Regions from separate parts of the Homo sapiens genome. Here regions 1, 2 and 4 are each linked to region 3. The links are contacts of gene promoters, found by promoter capture Hi-C in human tissues and cell types (Jung and others, 2019). All regions are on one chromosome and are shown on one strand. Each heading gives the region's core, a stretch centred on a gene start or on the middle of the fragment in contact. The rest is flanking DNA. Distances are from core to core; before and after follow the strand shown.

Region 1 (3,680 bases), core at 592-3,091, 770 kb after region 3:
TCAATTTTGAGATGGCTATTCAGAGCAACCACATACTCAGGAGTTCTGGGAAGCTATCCTTTTGTAAAAGGCTATAAAGGAAATCCACACCATGAAACAGCAGAATGGAGCAGAAGCTCTCTCTGAGGCCCCATTATCTGCCTAGAGGGATCTAGGAACGGTCCCAGGGACACACAAGAGGAGTGCCTGCGGCCTCGCCAGTTCCTCTGAGAGCAGCTCTGAGATCACCTGAGTGATTATCTGCACAACAAGACAACCCTGCACACCTCCCCTCTCCAGCCCCAAGCCCCTGTCCCAATGCCATAAAAACATCAATCATCTGTCTTCTGCAGTCTTCTCTTTGATGAGGTTCCCAATAGGTGTATGGGACAATTTGCATCCCTTTTCTCCAGGTCTGCTGCCCTTTTATTCCAGAGACTAAAATTATCTCTCCTTCAGAGTAGAAGGAGAGTTTAAAACTCCCCTACCCCTGCCACAGCCAAGCCCTGGCTCCCACCGTACCTCCTCCCCTCCACACTCTACCTGAAACAACCACCAGTGGACACTCCCTCCCTCAAACACCTTCAATGACTCCCCACCGCCCAGGCCTCTTTCTTTCCACCCGAAGTGTTTCCTTCTCCAATGCTACACTGGGGAACCACAGACCAGAAAACTCGAAAAATCCTCCAAAAAGCATTTTTTGTTTGTTTGACAGTTTCACCCAGGCTGGAGTACAGTGGGCAATCTCAGCTCACTGCAACCTCCGCCTCCCGGGCTCTAGCGATTCTCCCGCCTCAGTCTCCCAAGTAGGTGGAGTTACAGGCATGCGCCACCACACCCGGCTAATTTTTTGTGTTTTTAGTAGAAACGGGGTTTCATGTTGGCCAGGCTGGTCTCGAACTCCCGACCTCAGGTGACCCACCCGCCTTGGCCTCCCAAAGTTTTGGGATTACAGGCATTAGCCACTGCGCCCGGCCCCCTAAAGCATCTTATTGTTCCATCTGCTCTAGGGGCCGGAAGACACAAGAGAGAGCCCCAGGCACCCAACACTGTTGCATTCAATCCGCTTCCTGTCTTTTCTCTGACATTTTTTCCCAAGCACAGACACTGCCACCCAAATCAAAGCCCATCCCCCAACCACAACCAAAGTCAACAAGGTGGGGGCAGGGAAGGGCCACCACCATGTTTGCACAGCTCCTTCCCCTCCCGCCCTGGACTCCCCCAGGGCCCGGCCCGCCGGCTTGCAGGCAGCCATCCGGGAGGGGTGCCCACCCTGGCCTTGAGCCCCGCGCTCGGGCGACTTCGCCAAGTCGGAAGGACGCTGCGCGGTGCGGTTCAGACGGGGCGATGCCTCCCTCGTAAAAGTTAGGAGTCTGTTTTTGCAACTTCACTTTTCCGTTGTTGCCATTCGTACAGGCGCAGGATTCCCGGGCGGACCTGCAGGCCCGGGTCCGGCTGTCCCCTTCCACTACACCCCCCGTGCCCCGGCCACTTCCCGGGGGCAGCACTGCCGGGGCGCAAAGCCTCCTCCGCGCTCTGCGCTCCGGGGATGTCGCCGGGGTCCCAGGCGTGCCCGCTGCCCCCACCCCGACCCCTCCCGCAGCCGGGGAACAGGGTCAGTGGGCGCCGCGGGCGGGGCTGGACCGGGCACCCCGGCGGCGAAACCGAAACTTGGAGCCGGCAGGAAGAGGCGGCCGGGAGGGGCATCCGGACGCAGGCGCCGCTCCCCGGGACCCGGCCCGCCGGCCCGCGGGGCCCACTGTATCCTAGCCCGCTCCCCGCCCCGGGAGACTCTCCAGGCCCGCTCGCACCTGCGGCCCCCGAGCTCGCCGCCTGCCGCGCGCTGTCGCCCCTCGGGTCACGGGGCCCTGGGCCCCGCCCTGCCCGCCGCCGCCGCCGCCGGCCCCGCCCTGCCCGCCGCCGCCGCCGCCGGCCCCGCCCTGCCCGCCGCCGCCGCCGCCGGCCCCGCCCTGCCCGCCGCCGCCGCCGCCGGCCCCGCCCTGCCCGCCGCCGCCGCCGCCGGCCCCGCCCTGCCCGCCGCCGCCGCCGCCGGCCCCGCCCTGCCCGCCGCCGCCGCCGCCGGCCCCGCCCTGCCCGCCGCCGCCGCCGCCGGCCCCGCCCTGCCCGCCGCCGCCGCCGCCGGCCCCGCCCTGCCCGCCGCCGCCGCCGCCGGCCCCGCCCTGCCCGCCGCCGCCGCCGGCCCCGCGCAGGCGTGTGCGGAATTCCCCGCCGGTGGCGCCTCCCAGTGACTCCGGGCCCCCAGCCCCCGGGAGGCGCCTCGGGCCGCTGCGCGCCGGGTACAGACGCGGGAGGGGCCTCGGTTCCCGCCAGGCGTGGGGCGCATGCGGGTCTCCCGGAAGCCCAGACCCCGGGCAGGCCCGAGCAGCCGAGTGGGGCGGGACAGGCGCGCCCCCCGCCCCGGCGCCCAGCACCTCGGACAGTGTCTGCGGCCGCGCAGAGCCGGCGGCCAGCCTGGGAGCGGCCCAGAGGGCGCCCGGCGGGTGCAGTGGACGTCGTCAGCGCGCCGCGTGGGGGCCTTTGCAGATTAAGGGACCTCCGCGGCCCCGCGCGGAGCGCTCTGTCACTGATGATGGAGGGGCCACGGCGGTCCGCACCATCCCCCGTGCCTCAGTTTTCCCATCTGTGAGGCTCATGGTGTGACCAGGGACCTCCGTTTTAAAATCACCCACTTTCTTTTTCTTCCTTCTCCTCTCACCCCTTCATCCCGTCCCTCTCTGGACACTGCGCCCCTCTGCGCATTCCAGAGGGGACCCTCATCCTGAAACAATTCCCGGCGCGGAACCCCAGCTGAATGCTCCTGCTTGGGGCGGGGGGTCGCCAACAATTAGTCCAACATCCTCGACAGCCACCCCTCCTAACCGACAACTGCCCACGACAGCCATGGGAACAAGACACAGACCCTGCCCTTACCCCACTCCCCACGGTGCCCACGGCAAGTTTCCCTAGAAGAACTCGATGGCAGCCTGGGCAACATAGAGAGACCCCATCTCTACAAAAAAAATCATTTAAAAAAATTAGCTGGGCGTGGTGGTGCACCTGAAGAGGCTGAGGCAAGAGGATCGTTTGAGCCCAGGGAGCTCCAGGCTGCAGTGAGTCGTGATCATACCACTGCACTCCAGCCTGGATGACAAAGTGAGATCTTGCCTCAAAAACTAACAAACACACAAAACCTGAGGATAAATTTTTAATTTTAGGGTGGCACTTTATTTATTGTTTGTTTGTTTTTTGGAGACAGTCTCACTCTATACCCCAGGCTGGAGTGCAGTGGCGTGATCTTGGCTCACTGCAAACTCCACCTCCCAGTTCAAGTGATTCTCATGCCTCAGCCTCCCGAGTAGCTGGGATTACAAGCGCCCGCCACCAAGCCTGGCTAATTTTTGTATTTTTAGTAGAGACGGGGTTTCTCCATGTTGGCCAGGGTGGTCTCAAACTCCTGACCTCAGGTGATCCACCTGCCTTGGCCTCCCAAAGTGCTGGAATTACAGGCATGAGCCACTGCGCCCAGCCAAGGTGACACTTTAGAACGCTAGTTGGGCATCTTCTCGCTTTGCTGGGTCTCCAATTAAAACCTGCTTTTTCCTCCCACCAATCTTGACTGCACCACTGCACTCCAGCCCTGGCGACAGAGTGAGACTTTGTCTCTAAACAGTTAATTTCAACTGTTTCTTTTGACTTTTTCA
Region 2 (3,519 bases), core at 934-3,433, 660 kb after region 3:
CTGGGATTACAAGCACCCACCATCATGTCCAGCTAATTTTTTTTTTCTTTGAAGTAGAGACAAGGTTTCACCATGTTGGCCAGGCTGGTCTTGACAAACTCCTGACCACAAGTGATCCGCCTGCCTCGGCCTCCCAAAGTGCTGGAATTACAGGTGAGAGCCACTGTGCCCAGCCTGGCCTTGAAGCCTCTTCTGCAATTCTTCTATTCCTAGTTCTTGCTCTTGCCTGTCTCTGCCTGCCAGAGGTAAAAAGGTCGCACCTTGCAAGCTGAACTACGTTTAATTCGCTGAAAGCAAAGGCCACAAGAATGTTCTACTTTCCTTGAGTGAAATTCAATTAGAAGTGATGCCTAATTAAAGAAGCTCTGAGGTGAGTGCCCTCACCTTGGCCCTACAGCAGGCAGTGTAAACATGATCACAAGCTGGGGCAAATCAGCTGAAGCACAGAGACAAAGGACCAGACAGACAAGCGGCAGGTTTCCTTCCTGGCTCTGGGGATGCTAAGGGCAGGCGGAACGCGGAAGCAGTGGCACCATCCCTGGGTGTGAGGGTGAGGTGTGGGGGTGTGAGGGTGAGGTGTGGGGGTATGAGGGTATGTGGTGGGGAAGGTGTGAGGGGGTGGGGTGTGGGGGGGGTAGGGTGTGAGGGTAGGGGGGTGTGTGGGTTTGGGGTGTATGGGGCTGTGGGGGTGCATGTTTGTGTGCTGCCCGGCCCCGCTTCTCACCTGCTGCTTGACAACGTCCTTGGGAAACACCCACTGGTGCGGGCGGCCGGGCTTGGAGAGGCCCTGCACGAACTCCATCCCCCGCTGGCTGCTGAGCTTCCGCACCAGGTACACCCGGTGCCAGTCGTTCTCCACCCGGATACAGAACTGCTTGACTTGCTGCAGGTAGCACTGCTTCTCCTTGGCCATCTCTGAGAGGCCAACGAGAAAGCGGGTGAGTGGCTGGTGACTTAGGGCATTTATTGTAGGACACAAGGCCAACCAGAGGGCATCGGACCTACCCACAGGCATTCACAGAAACACATCCAGGGGAGAGGGGATGTAGAAAAGCCCAGTAGTAGTCTATTCGAAGAACTAGTTTCCCATACTTCCTGAATTTCTAAATAACGGAGTCTTTAAACCCAAAGGAAAGCAAGGCAGAGAAGACTTGCCTGGGCCTCCCTCAGGCTCCGAGAGGAAATCTGCAGCTCTGTCGAGGCAGAGGCGGATCCGGGCCACCTCTTGCAGGTATTCAACCGAGGCCTCGTTGGCAGGCTCTCGGCCCCGGCTTGCTGGAGAATATGCCTTAAGGAAACGACCTTCCTCTTCTAGGTGGTTCAGTTCATCATTTCTGGAGTAAGCACTGGTCTTCTCAAGTATTGAATCCTGAGGAACAAGGAACAAGAAAGAAAAGGATATTATTTTTTTAAACATGGATGCCCCAAGCTTCTACAGTCGCCAATGTGACTGTGGAGAAGGAAGGATAGAAGAATGTTACTGTAGGTTTCAGTGTAAATTTCTTGACTTATGGAAACCTAACATTCCTTTTTATTTTAAGGACAAGAAGGAGGGGAAAAGTGAACCTATGAGGAAAAAAAATTATCTAATTTATTTACATTATAAAAATTTTGGATATAAAAATATGAAGATAAAAAGTATCCATAATGTCCCCACTCAATGATAACCACTGTTAACTTTGGCAGTATATTCTCCTAGGCTGTTCTGTTTTGTATGTATATGCAAGTAAATGCCAAAATATACGTTGCTGAAGGCAGAAGCCGCGTCTTTGAAACCTTTCTTCTTTTCTGCACGGAACAGAGCATTCGTTAATTATACTGACTAAAATTATATTCTGTAAATTTTAAACCATGTGGTTCAGATAGTTTCCAAAAGAAATTCAGGGAAGAGAGAGTTCACTTACCTCCAGGCAGTTGATGAAGAGCATGTACAGTTCAGTTTTATCTTCAGTTATGAATGCTTTCTTTTTTAACAGGGTCAAATATTCCTGAATATAATCTTTTACATCATGAAAGCTGCAGAAAGAGAAATATTATTCCTGGTTCTCTCAGATCTGGAGACATACCTTACTAAAAAAAAGAGCATCTATCTATCGGTCGTCTGTCCTGTGTGTGTGTGTGTATAAACATATACATACATATACGTGGTTTCTAAGATTTTATGGAAAACCTTTTAGCATAATACTGGAGGAATATAAAACTCACATTTTAGACCAGCTGTCCTCAAACTTTGGTTTCAGGACCCCTTTATAGTCTTAAAAATTGAGAACCCCGAAGAGCTTTTATGTGGGTTATATTATCAATATTTATGATATTAGGAATTATGAGACATTAAAAACAAAAGGTTTCAAAAATATACATTCATTTAAAATAACAATAAAGCTATTACATGTTAAATAACATTTAAAATATTTTCCAAAACATGAATCCGTGAGAAGAGTGGTTTGGTCTTCCATTCCTGTGCTGGCCCTGGGGCCTGGCTCCTGGAAGTCAGCGGCCTGCCTGCCCTGCTCCCCATCGCTGCAGCATATGGGAGAACATGAAGAAAATCTGTCCTCATATACTCGGAATAGCGAGGAACATTTTAATAGTTTTTGCAGCTGATTGTGGCTATTATTCCTTAATGCTGTGCCCACAGTGATAAATGGTCATGTCTAGAGGTTAGTTGCAATGTGGAGCCTGAAACTGTATCAGTGCATTTTTCAGTCAATTATGTTAAAATCAAAAAGGTCTGCCCATACTTTAAATAGATTTTTTTCTTTTTTGACCCACATGATTTCATGACATCAGGCATTGGTCATTTGGAAAATATTGGTTCACTGGGCTGTGCAGGTCTTGTAAAGGTTGACACATTTGTATTCTACGTTTTAAAAAAAAAAATCCATATTCATTAATATCACCACAAATTGCCCCAAAATGTCTTTAAGTATTCAAAAGCTCACAAGCTCATAGTGGAGAATATAAGCTTTTCAAAATTTTAATTTCAGCTTAAAAGCTTGAATGTTATCATCACCAACCAACATTGTCAGTTGTTTGGCTGAGGCTGGCTCACTTTGCTGATTTCCAGGAGAGGCCTGCCCAGCCCTGGACACCTGTATCATGTGCATCCTTCCTCCCAGCACGGGTGGCGGTCCATGAACACAGCAGCCGGCTGATAACCCAGGGCTTGTCATGAGTGATTTTCTGTGAGGCAACTGTCTACTCCGGTGTGTAGTGGGAGTGTTTTGTGTGTGCTTCCCATTTCCACAAAACGTTGAAAAGTCAAATCCTCAAGAGTCAAGATTTAGTAAAACTAAAATGAAACTGGCATGAAGAAAACCACGTGTGCATGGCGGTGAAGAAAACAATACCTCCAGCTACTGTGTCTTCACGTGAGGGGCCAGCAGTTTAACTCATCACCGCTTTTTGTAACATCATCATAAGTATCAACATGTTTTTTAAAAAAGGGCAAATTTATCTTAGTAATCTAATTTTTAAAATAGTTTTAACCTCAGAGACCTACCTCACACCCAAGGGTCC
Region 3 (3,371 bases), core at 43-2,542:
ACGCCTTGGCCGCCTACCACAATCAGAAACAGTTACTCTGCCGGGCAGGGTGCAAGCCGGTTAGGAAACATGAACCAGCGACTGCCGGGTAAATACCCACTCCACTCATCGCCCAGCCTGTCACTGAACCTGCAGACAGTTTTGAAACAAAGCACATCTGTAAGAGATCGCCCAGGACCCAGGGACACCCAGAGCAGGGGTTTCTCCTCTGAGAAAATGCTCCCCGGCAGCTGCCGGGCTCAGGCGTGGGGGTCTGGACCGAGAACGGATGCTGAAGAAAGAGAAAACCAAGGGCCTGTTTGTCGGTATCCCAGCCACAAAAACGACTGGGGAGGGGGCGGCAGGGGAGGCTTCCAGCGGTGCTCTGCGGCCCTTGGATGTGAACCTGTCATTTCGCAGACGAGAACGTGGATGCCACTCTTAACACATCTGAAGCAAAGGCAGGCACGTCAGCCTCCTACACAATTAGTCTTCTCTCTCCGCGGTTACATAAGATGATAGATTATCCGTCCACCCATCCAGCCTGCCCGCGCTCCGACCTCCCACCTTAGGCCCCAGCATGGGCGCCGGGCAGGAGTTGTGGGAAGGGAAAGCCTGTTGAGAATGAAGTGCCCGAGGCTCGCGCAACCGCGCCTGGAGGAGCCCCACGGTGCCACCGCGCCGACCGCGGCCTTCAGACAGCCCCCATGCCGTCCTGGCCGCCGCAACCCCTGGGCCCGCCGCCCCCGCCGCCCCGGCCCTGCCCGGGTGTGCTACGACCCCGACCGGTCCGAGGGCTTCCGGGGCCCGGCGCGCGGCTCCGTTCCCGCCGACGCCAAGGCGAGCGCGCGGGGGCCGAGCAGGGCCGTCGGAGCGGGGAGTGCTCCCCGGGCCTGGGGCTGGGGACTGACCGGGCCGCGGCGCGCATGGGATGGGGGGGCCCGGGCGGGGGTGGCCACCTGTGAGCGGCCGGCGCCGGGCTCACCACCCCAGCAGCCCGGGTCCCGGGTGGCCGCGCCGGGAAGACCCCCAAAGTCCCAGCCTCCTGGCCCGGCGCGCGGCCCCGGGGCCGCCCTGGTCGGGCTCGGGCGCGCGGGCGGCGCGCGACCCAGGCGCACACGGAGCGGGCTCAGCTCGGCGCCGGGGGGCGCTCACCTTATAGACATTTTCCGTGAGCCGGTGCATCTCCTCTGAGCGAGACAGAGACATGGTCCTGGGTCCCGGCTGCACCACAGACCGGAGCGGGGGACGCAAGCGGCGGCAGCAGCGGCGGTAACGGCAGCAGGACGGAGACGAAAGCGGACCCGAACCACAGAGCCCGGCGTCCGGCGGCGGCCACCTTTATAGCCGCCTCAGGCCCCGCCCCGCGGCAGTCCCCGCCCCTGCGTCCCGCCCCCGTTGCGCCCGCATCACCGCCCCCGACCACCCGCCCCCGCCCGGCGCTGCCGCTGCTAGGCAACCGCCAGGCCCCGCCCCCGCACCGCCCTTTCCATTGGTGGGTTCCGGAGAAGGGGGAGGGGGGCGGGATCGGAGGTGGGGCCTAGTGGCCGACTCCAGGCAGCGATTGGTCTGCGGCGGCGTCGATCCTGGGGGAGGAGAGGGGAGGCGCGGCGCGGGCTGGGGCCCTGGGAGCAGCCTGAGGGGGCCCGGGCAACAGCCGGGCTGGGGGCGGGGAGGCGGGGGCGGGGTGGCGCAGGAAGAAGGAGCAGAAGGTGCGGGGAGGAGAGCGGGGGGCGCCGGCGGCAGCGCGCGTGGAGGCGGCACTTCGCGAAGTGGCACTTCGGGGCGGGCGGCCCGCCGGGTCGCGGCCTGGCGCTGCGGGGCGGGGAGCGGCTCGGACGCAGGACGCCGCGGGCCGGGCTTACAGGTGGGAGAGGCCCCGACCCCGCCGCTTCGCAGGTAAGCCCGCCGGGCGGGCGGCGACCCCCCGGCCGGCCCCTCGGGGCAGAGAGGAGAACCCTGGGGGAGGGGGTGCTGCAGGAGGACCCTGGAGAGAGCTCGGCCCTGGAGTGGGGGACGACTTGGAGAAGGAGGATTTCGGGGGAGCATCGTGAGGAGAGGACTTGGAGGGAGGATCCTGCAGAAGGTGAACTCTGGGGAGGACCCCAGACAGGCAGACAGCGCTTGGGGGCTTGGGGCCGGGATTCTGGAGAGGGGAGGACCCTGGGAGAGGAGGGTTGGGGAAGAGGATCTTGGAGGAGGGCCCTGGGAAGGAGGATCTGGAGAGGGGACAGGGGAGTGTCCTGCTGGAAGGCCTGGGGACAGGGCGACCCTTAGGGACGGGGAGGACCCTCCTGCCGTCAGAAGATTCTCGTTGGAGGCAGTTTACTGAGAGAGAGAGGTCTCGGGAAGGAAGGGTCGAGGGCAGTAGGAAACGAGGGGCCCGGAGGACTCTCATGCGGTGGAAAGCCCTAGGGGGTGGGGGAACCTTGTAGGAGGAATGGAGGAGTCAGAGCTGCCTCCAATTTTTAGGAAGGGTCCTGCTTAAGGGTCCTCCCAAGGGGAGATTCTGCCGGGGAAGCTGGCCGAGTTGGCACACAGGTCTCCCGGTACAATTCCCGTGGAGAAATATTTACATAAATTAGGCTAACATAGAGGAATTATTTGTTTTACGTTGTGAAACACCAGATCTGAGCGTTTCCGTTTAATGAAACCTCTCAGTCTCCCAGCCTCCCATCCCTGCAAAATCATTCATTCATTCATTCCTTCAACGAGTCAGGCCCCTGGGGGAGACGCAGTTGTGCTGGCTGGCCGGCAGATCCCCAGACTGGCACGGGCTCAGGCCGATGGAAAGACCAGGGAAGTAAGATTCAGGAAGCATTGCCTCCCTCCCACCACAGCCCCGCGCCTCCTCTCCTCCGGCTGAATTTCCTTCCAGCTACTGGCCCTGGCTGCTTCCTTTTTCTTTATTGTCTCCAGTGTTTGGGGGTAGATCCCTGTGTATTTATTTTCTAGGATTCTTTTGGTGGTAAATGACAGAAAGCTCGCTCAAACTGGCCCTAACAAATGAGGGCATTTACCTGAAGGTAGGAGCATCTCCACTGACCCTGACCCCCTTCTTCTAGGCCAGCTTCCTGCTGTGTTCCCTGCACCCACCGATCTCACACGCAGCCCTAGGACAGACGTCCACTGGCCTGAGTTGGGTCTGGGGCCAACACGGAGCAGGTGGGGGTAGAGCAGCTCTGCTCGCCTGGAGGAAAGTTGAATGGCTGGAACCAAGATGACAGATGGAGGCTGGCAGGCAAACACGGGAGGCCTCCTCACTCCAAGAGGGGAGTCAGCCTGGGGACAGTTCTTCTCCAGGCCCTGCTGCTCCCATCAGCTGCAACACAGGAGAGGTAGGCTTCTCCGGAAAAGCTCCCACGGTCCTGGATCCCGCTCCACCTTCTAGA
Region 4 (3,602 bases), core at 194-2,693, 560 kb after region 3:
ATCGAGCCGGCCTCTGCTCCCGCCCGAGGGGCGGACGCCCGATCCCGGCACCCGGGACTGCCCGTGGGTCCCTGCTGGCTGGGGACCCCCAGCCCCCGGCTGCGCGCAGGGAAAGGCTGCAGAACGCAGAGACCAGAGAAGCCGGGGGCGGCGGGGAGGGGTCGGGGGGCCACGGCTGTAGCCCGGCCCCGCAGTCTCGGAGCCTCAGTTTCCTTCTCTGTACCACGGGAGCGTGGACGGAGGGATTTCCGAGGCTTTGACCGCTCTGATAGCCCCGGGGCGGGGCGGGGCGGGGCGGCTGCGCCAGCCCTGGTCCTGAGCCCCCAGCCCGGCGCCGGAACCCGGACCGCGATCTCGGGAGCCGAGCCCCGCGGTCCAGATGAAGGCGCGAGTGCGCGGGTGCCGGGTGGGGTGTCTGAGCGAGAGCGGAGCTTCTCAGGTGGACGCCCCCAGCCACCTCCGGGACCCTTCCTGCTGGCCTTTGGGCCTGAGAAGTGGGCGCGGCTGGACAGACGGGAAACAGCCCCCCACGCACAGGTGGACACCCGGGGATACCGGGCGCGCGCGGCGCCTGGCAAGGGGAAGCTGCTGGAGACGCGGGCGGCTGCTCCCGCGGGGCCCCCTTCCGAAGCGCCGCTGCGAACGTCCAGCCCCGGCGACGCCGCCTGCCCGCGATCGGGCCGGCGCCGCGGACAGGAAAGGCTCGATCAGCTAGGTCTGCCTCCGAGAAGTCCCCAGCGCCCCGCCCGCACGGGGTGGGGACTGACAGTCCCCCGGGGACGGGGCCGGGTCCACAGAGCCCGGGAGCTGGGGGAGGGGAGGCGCCGGGGGCCCCGACCCGTGGGAAGTCCCTGTACCCAGGCTGCCCGGCGGCTTCTCAATAGCACACGGACATCTAAGAAACGCGGGGCGGCCCGGTGACCCCCGCTCTGGACTTAGTGGCGCCGCGAGGCCCCACTCCGAGCCGTTGACCACCGGGCACTCGGGTGTTGACGACCTGGGTCCTTGGGCACCCAGCCCGGCTCCAAACGACCCCGGCCCAAGGGTGTTCAGTGCAGCCAGGAGGGCCGAACCGAATTCTATCTCCCGGACGCGGTGGTTTCCCGCCCGCCTGGAGCCCCGTCGGAGGTTCGGGGACACCACGCAGGTGGTCCATCCTCGAGTCCGGGGCCGGAGCCCGACTTCCTTCCCCCTGAGCTCTCGGAGCCTTCGGGGCAGCAGCGCCGGCCCAGGCGGGGGCGGGGGAGGAGGGGGCCGCGGCAGCTCCCAGAAGGGCGGGGGGGACGCGAGCGGAGGCAGCCCCGGTGGCGCGCTCGTGAGACCCCCGCCGCGCCGCGGGCCCGGGCCGCGGACAATTAAAGCGGGATTCCTCCCCCGCTGACGTCGGCGGCTCGAGGCCCCTCCCGCGGCGGCATAAAAGGCGCGGGCTCCGCAGCGCAGGCGGCAGTGGGGGCCTGATAGCGCGGCGGTGTGGACCGCGCGGCCGAAGAGCGCGGCGCCCAGAGCGCGGGCCGCTCGCGGAGCCACAGCCCGAGCCGGGTCCCAGCCGGAGCCGAGCCCCAGCCGAGCCGAGCCGGGCCCGGAGCGCCCGGTGCCCGCAGCCATGCCGGCCGGCCGCGCCGCGCGCACCTGTGCGCTGCTCGCCCTCTGCCTCCTGGGCGCCGGGGCCCAGGATTTCGGGCCGACGCGCTTCATCTGCACCTCGGTGCCCGTGGACGCCGACATGTGCGCCGCGTCCGTGGCCGCCGGCGGCGCCGAGGAGCTCCGGAGCAGCGTGCTGCAGCTCCGCGAGACGGTGCTGCAGCAGAAGGAGACCATCCTGAGCCAGAAGGAGACCATCCGCGAGCTGACCGCCAAGCTGGGCCGCTGCGAGAGCCAGAGCACGCTGGACCCCGGAGCCGGCGAGGCCCGGGCGGGCGGCGGCCGCAAGCAGCCCGGCTCGGGCAAGAACACCATGGGCGACCTGTCCCGGACACCGGCCGCCGAGACGCTCAGCCAACTCGGGCAAACTTTGCAATCGCTCAAAACCCGCCTGGAGAACCTCGAGGTCCGCGCGCGCCCTCGGCTCCGGTTCCCCCTCCGGCTCGCTCGCCCCTCTGCCCTCCCCCACCCCGTTCCCTACCCGGCCAGGCATCCCCCGCCCTCGCCTCAGCCGCGCGGGTGCCCGGCCGGTGCCTCCCCGCGCCTGCGAGGCCCCGCGGCGGCCACTCGCCCCAGCTCCCTGCCAGGCCGCCCCCGCAGTCGCCCAGAGGGGACCGCGCCGCGGGCCTTCCAGCACGGTCCCCGCGCCTCGCCTAACGGTGTGGTTTCCCCCGCCCTTGCACCCCGCAGCAGTACAGCCGCCTCAATTCCTCCAGCCAGACCAACAGCCTCAAGGATCTGCTGCAGAGCAAGATCGATGAGCTGGAGAGGCAGGTGCTGTCCCGGGTGAACACCCTGGAGGAGGGCAAGGGGGGCCCCAGGAACGACACCGAGGAGAGGGTCAAGATCGAGACCGCCCTGACCTCCCTGCACCAGCGGATCAGCGAGCTCGAGAAAGGTACTGGGGCCAGGGGGAGCCGTGCTGCCTGCCTGCACCTGCTTGCCCGACCCTGCCTCGGTCCCGATCCCTAACAGCCCAGCTCTGCACTGTGCAAGCCTCAAGCCGCTCCGCTACCCCCAACCCCTGCACCGCTTTCTCATTCCCCGCACCCCTTCCCAGGTTCTGGGCTTCTAGTCGGTGTTTCTATCAGGGCTGGGTGCCTTGGGCTGGGGCTGTCTCTGGGAAAGGGGATTGCATAGTGCCCCCTCCCCCATCCAGACACACTCACACACTCGCTGGATTTTTCAAGTCTGATTTGTTTAATCCTCAGTAACTTTGCACAGTGGCTGTCGCTGGCTCAAACCCTCCCTGCTTAAGAAAGCCTGTCTCTCCCTGGTCCCCAGCCTCAGCGTACAGCTGGGTGCAGGCTGGGGCTGGGCGCTCTCGTTCCCCGGGCCGCTGAGGCTGTTAAGCAGGTTTCTTCCCGGCTGCCATGCCCCCGGTGTCCTCTCAGGATCTCCAGCTCCTCCCCACTTCTGTCCTGAACCCCTACCCTGAGGTTTTCTTTTCTGAGTGACCCAAGTCCTGGCATCTTTCAAATCCCTGAGGTTTCTCAGTCACCAACTCAGGCCAGCCAGTCTATCACCCAGGGCGCCTGGATGAGCGCTGGAGGCTCTGTCTTGAAGTCGCAGAAATCAAACAAGGTTGTAAAAGGGGAGGGGGGGGGGTGCCCGGTGCGGAGCAAGGCCACGTGACCCTGCTCAGACCGCAAAATGTGCCGGACAGATTTAAACAGTGCCATCTTAAGGCTTGTTATGTAACTGAAAAACAGATCAGAAGGAAGGACCTCAGGAGGGAGGGAGAGGGAAGGAGCGGAGATTGGGGAATGAAAAACACCCGGAGAAAGGCCAGGGGCTGGGCCCCTCCCTATCCCCCACTGCAGGCCTCAATGGGTTGGGGTAGCCGCTGGGGTGCTGCACTGAGGGGGCCTGCCCTGCTCTGCTCCCTGCCAGTTGGTTTAGAGGAGGGGGTGGTTGCTGACCGGGCAGGATGTCTTCTAGAAATAATTTTTGGCCTGGGG

What was found. Contacts are between HindIII fragments. The study calls those that stand out against the background at their distance.
Region 1: the fragment with the promoter of RNF213 here is called in contact with the fragment with the promoter of BAIAP2 in region 3 in 1 of the 25 tissues and cell types used here (liver).
Region 2: a fragment that was not itself captured here is called in contact with the fragment with the promoter of BAIAP2 in region 3 in 2 of the 25 tissues and cell types used here (dorsolateral prefrontal cortex and lymphoblastoid cells).
Region 4: the fragment with the promoter of NPTX1 here is called in contact with the fragment with the promoter of BAIAP2 in region 3 in 3 of the 25 tissues and cell types used here (dorsolateral prefrontal cortex, lymphoblastoid cells and spleen).

The regions. Positions count from the first base shown.
Region 1 is chr17:80,259,013-80,262,692 of GRCh38, reverse strand. It overlaps RNF213 (ring finger protein 213), which reads right to left and starts at 1,841. Exons shown (of 68, transcript NM_001256071.3): 1 at 1,791-1,841. RefSeq lists silencers at 964-1,103, 1,484-1,833, 2,113-2,462. The HindIII fragment of the contact is 8,363 bases long and covers 1-3,680 here.
Region 2 is chr17:80,370,371-80,373,889 of GRCh38, reverse strand. RNF213 (ring finger protein 213) reads right to left here. Exons shown (of 68, transcript NM_001256071.3): 47 at 1,905-2,016; 48 at 1,156-1,369; 49 at 725-915. The region is part of intron 1 of RNF213-AS1 (RNF213 antisense RNA 1); the gene reads left to right. Among named protein-coding and RNA genes, the nearest start is that of ENDOV, 43 kb to the left of the region's middle. RefSeq lists an enhancer at 923-2,122. The HindIII fragment of the contact is 5,086 bases long and covers 1-3,519 here.
Region 3 is chr17:81,033,072-81,036,442 of GRCh38, reverse strand. It overlaps BAIAP2 (BAR/IMD domain containing adaptor protein 2), which reads right to left and starts at 1,292. Exons shown (of 14, transcript NM_001144888.2): 1 at 1,135-1,292. The coding sequence starts at 1,188. It overlaps BAIAP2-DT (BAIAP2 divergent transcript), which reads left to right and starts at 1,724. Exons shown (of 2, transcript NR_026857.1): 1 at 1,724-1,878; 2 at 3,045-3,371. RefSeq lists an enhancer at 480-1,475 and a silencer at 1,347-1,656. The HindIII fragment of the contact is 14,233 bases long and covers 1-3,371 here.
Region 4 is chr17:80,474,448-80,478,049 of GRCh38, reverse strand. It overlaps NPTX1 (neuronal pentraxin 1), which reads left to right and starts at 1,443. Exons shown (of 5, transcript NM_002522.4): 1 at 1,443-2,047; 2 at 2,332-2,539. The coding sequence starts at 1,604. RefSeq lists an enhancer at 2,456-2,989. The HindIII fragment of the contact is 30,247 bases long and covers 1-3,602 here.